Regions from separate parts of the Homo sapiens genome. Here region 1 is linked to region 2. Evidence: promoter capture Hi-C in 16 types of primary human blood cells and fetal thymus (Javierre and others, 2016). All regions are on one chromosome and are shown on one strand. The core of a region is centred on a gene start or on the middle of the fragment in contact, and the rest is flanking DNA. Distances in the headings are between cores, read along the strand shown. Region 1 holds the start of KAT2B (lysine acetyltransferase 2B). Region 2 holds the start of TOP2B (DNA topoisomerase II beta).

Evidence for each region. The method cuts DNA at HindIII sites, captures the fragments that hold promoters and counts their contacts. A CHiCAGO score of 5 or more calls a contact.
Region 1: a contact is called between the fragment with the promoter of KAT2B here and the fragment with the promoter of TOP2B in region 2, in 5 of 17 cell types (total CD8 T cells, naive CD8 T cells, total CD4 T cells and 2 more). The highest score is 13.5, in total CD8 T cells.

What each region holds. Positions count from the first base shown.
Region 1 is chr3:20,038,855-20,041,778 of GRCh38, forward strand. It overlaps KAT2B (lysine acetyltransferase 2B), which reads left to right and starts at 1,592. Exons shown (of 18, transcript NM_003884.5): 1 at 1,592-1,926. The coding sequence starts at 1,624. RefSeq lists silencers at 854-1,493, 1,664-1,793, 1,994-2,053 and enhancers at 1,217-2,187, 2,904-2,924. The HindIII fragment of the contact is 5,734 bases long and covers 1-2,924 here.
Region 2 is chr3:25,663,657-25,666,387 of GRCh38, forward strand. It overlaps TOP2B (DNA topoisomerase II beta), which reads right to left and starts at 1,251. Exons shown (of 36, transcript NM_001330700.2): 1 at 573-1,251. The coding sequence starts at 641. MIR4442 (microRNA 4442) reads right to left here and starts at 1,283; the gene lies at 1,217-1,283. RefSeq lists enhancers at 1-30, 988-1,551 and silencers at 318-506, 461-820. The HindIII fragment of the contact is 4,216 bases long and covers 1-1,896 here.

The sequences.
Region 1 (2,924 bases), core at 342-2,841, 5.6 Mb before region 2:
GACTGGACTCAAGTTGGGAGAGAATATTGCCTTTTGCCCTGTCTAAGCTAATATCACTGTTTAGATCTACAAACTCCCCCACCTCCCAATGTTTATATATTAACCTGCATTACAAGTCAAAATAACACAGAGAATCTGGAAAAAGAAGAAGGGGAATGTTTCCCACGAAAAGCACACCCCTTAAAGCGTCTGGCCTGAGAGCTATACAGCATGCATAAAATCTGATAATAAGCACATTATGACCCACATTGCATATAACAAAAAGTAGGGCACTTCTGAAGGGTCCTGAGAAAAAGCCCTGGGCTTTTAAAACCTGCTTAAGAAGGCGATCAACGGTACACCACTTTCAAACGCAGCACTGACTTGTATGCTCCACAGTCATCAACAGTGAAAACAACAGTTTTCAACAAGAGTTGGAAACACTGAGTTGAGGGTTTTTTTTTTCTTTTTAAAGTTTGAGGCCAAAATCGATATTTATTCTTTTGAATTATGCTTATATCTTTTTCCTGGTTAATACGCACGCGGTGGCACAATTTTGAAAACTACGTAACGTTATAGAACCACCACCCAGAAACGAATCCTGTTAACAAACTTTTTGTATTCAAACTTTTTCCACTGCATAGTTTTTGACAATGCTTTTTAGACAATCTTTCTTTTAGCAACCAGCACTTTCAAACAAAAATTACAGAGAATAGTAAGTTTTTTTCCCCTCCTCCGGCAGATTTGACCCAGAAATTGCTATGGGAAGAAAGTGTTAATTATATTAAAAAATAGTTTGACAGAAAGTATTTAAAAAGAGAAAGGGAGAACATCACGTCTTTATTTTGGTGAATTAGCAACAAAGAAAAAGATTAGCATGGACGGGTACTTTTCAAAAATATATTTTTTTTCCTCTGGCTCCCGCTAGGGTGGAGGAAGTTGTCTCTCTGTCAGAGACAGGGTGGAAGAGAGTGAAAGGACAAATGATTGAGAGGCTGCCCCCTCCCACTGGTGCAGGCGTGCGGGGGTCGGATGGGGGGCCGCGGAGGGGGGAGGTGGCCAGCAGGTGCCTGGGCTCCAGGCCCCTACCCCCACCCTCGTCCCCACCCTCACCCACACCCAGGGATTGGCCTCGCCCCCTGGCGGGCGAGCGGTAGGTGTCGAAGCACTGGGGTGGGGGGTGCAAACCCCGCGGGCAGCGGAAAAGAGGCCGTGGGGGGCCTCCCAGCGCTGGCAGACACCGTGAGGCTGGCAGCCGCCGGCACGCACACCTAGTCCGCAGTCCCGAGGAACATGTCCGCAGCCAGGGCGCGGAGCAGAGTCCCGGGCAGGAGAACCAAGGGAGGGCGTGTGCTGTGGCGGCGGCGGCAGCGGCAGCGGAGCCGCTAGTCCCCTCCCTCCTGGGGGAGCAGCTGCCGCCGCTGCCGCCGCCGCCACCACCATCAGCGCGCGGGGCCCGGCCAGAGCGAGCCGGGCGAGCGGCGCGCTAGGGGGAGGGCGGGGGCGGGGAGGGGGGTGGGCGAAGGGGGCGGGAGGGCGTGGGGGGAGGGTCTCGCTCTCCCGACTACCAGAGCCCGAGAGGGAGACCCTGGCGGCGGCGGCGGCGCCTGACACTCGGCGCCTCCTGCCGTGCTCCGGGGCGGCATGTCCGAGGCTGGCGGGGCCGGGCCGGGCGGCTGCGGGGCAGGAGCCGGGGCAGGGGCCGGGCCCGGGGCGCTGCCCCCGCAGCCTGCGGCGCTTCCGCCCGCGCCCCCGCAGGGCTCCCCCTGCGCCGCTGCCGCCGGGGGCTCGGGCGCCTGCGGTCCGGCGACGGCAGTGGCTGCAGCGGGCACGGCCGAAGGACCGGGAGGCGGTGGCTCGGCCCGAATCGCCGTGAAGAAAGCGCAACTACGCTCCGCTCCGCGGGCCAAGAAACTGGAGAAACTCGGAGTGTACTCCGCCTGCAAGGTACGCGCTCGCCGCTCTCGGACCGCGGATGGGTGCTAGGGGCCCAGCCCGCGGGACCCCCCTCCCCCTCCCGCTTCCACCTCCGCCTCCCGCCTCCTGCCTCTCGCCTCCCGCCTGGGGCCGCTGCACCGCGGAAGTGCTCTTGTCGCCCGCGCCCAATTAGCTTCTTCTTGGATAAGAGTCCTGCTGGGTTTGAAGAAGGGGGATCACTAAGACGGAGAGCCCTTCATTCCTTCCGCTTGAAAGGAGTAGCTTCGGCATCCGAGCTCCCGGGCTACCTTGGGGTTTTGTTGCTCTGTAGGAGCTCGCTGGAGTCACTTTCCCGGGAGTGGAGCGGTGCTCTCCATGTGGCGGGTGACCCAGGGGCAAGGAAAAATCTTTTGGGGGACTGAGTGGTCCCTTCTGCAATCGATCCCTTCCTGTGTCCCACTGGGAGGAACTGGGTGCAAGGAGTGGGGGTGGAGAAGACTCCCGGACTCCTGGCGCTTTGGGAAAGCGAAGGGGAGGAAAGCGCGGGGTGGGAAGGTGGGCAGAGTCCGAGGCGAGGGTCTTGTGGTGCCTGGCGCCCTCGGCTGGGGGCGGAGGCACTGCCGCGCGCGGTGACAGCCCTGTCATTATTGTATTATTACTTGTTTAGTTAAAACGCTGTCCCAGCTGCTCGAGGTGTAAACAGGATTTGGCAAAGTGACAGCCCAGCGCGGCGGGCGCTACTGCTCAGTTTGAGGACACCCATTTCTTGCTACCCACTCTCCATGCCAGTTTAGGCACCCTGTCACCTCCAGCTGCAGATCCAGATGTGGAGGCTGTGTTCCCGAGGTGGGAGGATTGCCCGAGGCCGCGGGGCAGGCTGGCCCTGCGCTGTCAGCAGCGGCTTTGTTTTGACAGGGTGACAGCTGAGGGGGGCGGGGACTTGGCCTTGTCAGCTCCTGCGGCCTGTGGCTGAGGCAGGGAAGAGACACACTCACACACACTCACACCTCCCTGTATTCTTCCTGCCT
Region 2 (2,731 bases), core at 1-2,500:
GTATTAACTGCTGTGAAAGTCATCCCCAATGCGCTCTCAATTGAGCGCATTGAATGAGGCTTTCCAAATTGAAGTGCAAGTTGCTGTAGAAATCCCAATGCATTCTTCTTTGAGATTAAAGCCCCAGAAAGAGCTGCATTTAGAATACACACACACACACACCCCTTTTCCCAGGGTTTTCTTGAACTACATTTGGAGAAAATGCTGCCCCACACAGACACACTTGCATTATCGCCATCCCCACCATTTCAGGTTCGGCTGCCCCGGAAGAGTCTGGTTAAAAAGAAAAGAGAGGAAGCGGGGGCTGTATGTTACGTTCGCGGTTTTGTCCCCCCAAAGTTTCAAGTACACATTACGCTCTGGCAGTCAGGACTTCCAGAGACGTACAGAGAAAGAAAGAAAGAAAAGGCGCGGGGAGCGGGCTGGAGGATTCTGCAAGCACAGGCCCCTATGGAGCGCCCGTTCGGGGGACGGGATTTCCCTCCCTTTCCCCTCCCCCGCCCGTTCGGAATTCCGCCCCCGCCGCGGGCCCGGAACAATGCAGCCGCCCGTCCCGGGGACCAGCCACTTACCACCCAGGTCAGTGCCCCGTTGCCGCCGCCCACGCCGGCTCCCGCGCCGCAGCCACCCGACTTGGCCATGGCGAGTGCCTCCAGCTCACAGGCCCTGAGGCCGCAGCCGCCGCTCCCGCCTCCCTGCGGGCCGCTGGGCCCCGCCGCTCCGCACCCACCGCTCCACTCGCCGCACTCCTAGCCGCGCCGACCCCCGCGCCCCATCGCGAAGATCCGGAGCGGACGTCCAGCCGAGCCCGCTGAGGAGGCCGCGCCGCCGGCTGCCCTCAAACTCGAGGCGCGGCGTCCGCGTCGCCCGGGCCTAGCGCGGCGGCTGAGGAGAAAGCAGGGAGCGACCGGCGGCGGCCGAGCGGCGGCGTTGCCTTCTCGCCCGCCCGCGGGCGCCGCTGCAGGCCGGGCTGAAGCCCGGGCGTGCGAGCCGCGAGGGCGGCCGGGGAGCCCGAGGCGCTCGGACGTGGCGAGGACGCAGAGGTGCCTTGTCCTTCTCACACTCCGCGAAGGCCAGCCACTCGAGTCGCCAGAGTAGTCGTCCCGGTCGCCGCCGCTGCTTCAAAGGCAGCCTTAGCCTCGCTGCAGCCCCGATTTCCTCACACACACACACCGAGAGGGACAATAAACAGAGCCGCCGCCGCCGCCGCCACGGTCACCTCCCTCTTGTCCGGCATAACACCGCACACACACATTTGCACACCGGGGAGAGAGGGAGGGCGCGGCGGCCGCCCCCGCTGTCAGTCAGCGCCATGCTGTCCAATCCGGGCCTTGTCGCCACAGCCTCTCGGCCAATCCCAAAATTCCAAGCCCCCTGGAGGGGCGGGACCCGAGGGGGGAAACGTCATTGCGGGTAGCAACCGAAAGGAAGACTTGGGGTTTTTGTTTGTGTGTGTGTCTGTGGGTTTTCCATTTGAAGGGAGAGCAGGGGCTGCTTCAAGGGTCAATTGAGGGCGGCAAAGGGAAAGGGTCGAATTGGCCTCGGGTCGATTGTAATCCTCCAAGCGTGCTGTTTACTCTGAGACCTAACCGGGAATCCGAAGCGTTTGCCTGGGGCCTCTAAGGATGAGGATGGGGGCGGGGTGGGGATGGGGGTGGCAGGAAGAAGCCGGGGGCCGTCCCAAAGGGAAATTATTTTAAAAGAGCGGTTGTAAACCGCAGGCAAGACGTTGTAGACCACTGGTGCAAGGAGGCCCCGTGACCCGGCCTCCCCAAGGGCCTAAGTGGACGCTGCTGTCGAAAAAAATCATCTCAGACCTTCTCCATCTCCTTCTTCCGTCTCCTCCCCTCACCCCAAAAGAGCATATGGTCAGTTTCAAGAAAACTACATATGAAAAGCTTAAATGATAAGGGACACACAGAGAATGTTCTAGGGAAAGAATGCAGGGTGGGTTGAGTGTTCTATTTCTACTCTTTGTTGACCTTTCTTCTCTGAACAATGCAGAGATGTCACTGTCACTTTTCTCATCTGTCCAGAACTGTGCCCCCTGCCTCTAAGAGGGCATGCTTAATTTTTAAAACTGTTTTCAGTGGAATTTTCAAATGCACAGTAAGGAATAATTTCATTCACATTAAAGCTTTCTAAGAATGAAAATTACCAATACAGCAACATCACAGTCTTTGGCAGATGGAAGATGGCTTTACTTCTTCCTGTTTTTCAGTGTAATTCCACTCAAGTATTTATTGGGCGCACACTCTGCCACGCTGTGCCAGGCTCTGCGATGGGTTCAAAGTAAAAACAAGGCCCCTGATTTCAAACCATTTATAACCTGGCTTGTGAGACAGACTAAAAGGGAGCCAACGATCACCAAAATGAGTACTTGAAGGCATGAAGTGCCACCAAAGAGTTGTGATGAAAGCTTTTTATAAAGATGAAAACAGTATTACTGTTTTTTGAAGAGGTGTTTTTGTGAACTTCCAACTGTGCATTTCCTCTCAAGGGAAAACAAAAATGTCTCAGGTCACATCTTTAAACTGCATTCTGAGTCTAGAGGTGGAGAACTCTGAAACATGGAAATAATTTAAACATAGTTTTTTTAATTAGCTCTCTGATGGCCATGTAACTTTGCCATACTAGGGACTTCAGAACAGTGAAGCCTTTCTTTACCTTGAACTTGGGGTGCAAACTTTTCTGAACCTGACCAAGTATCCATAGCCTTGTTATTTAACTT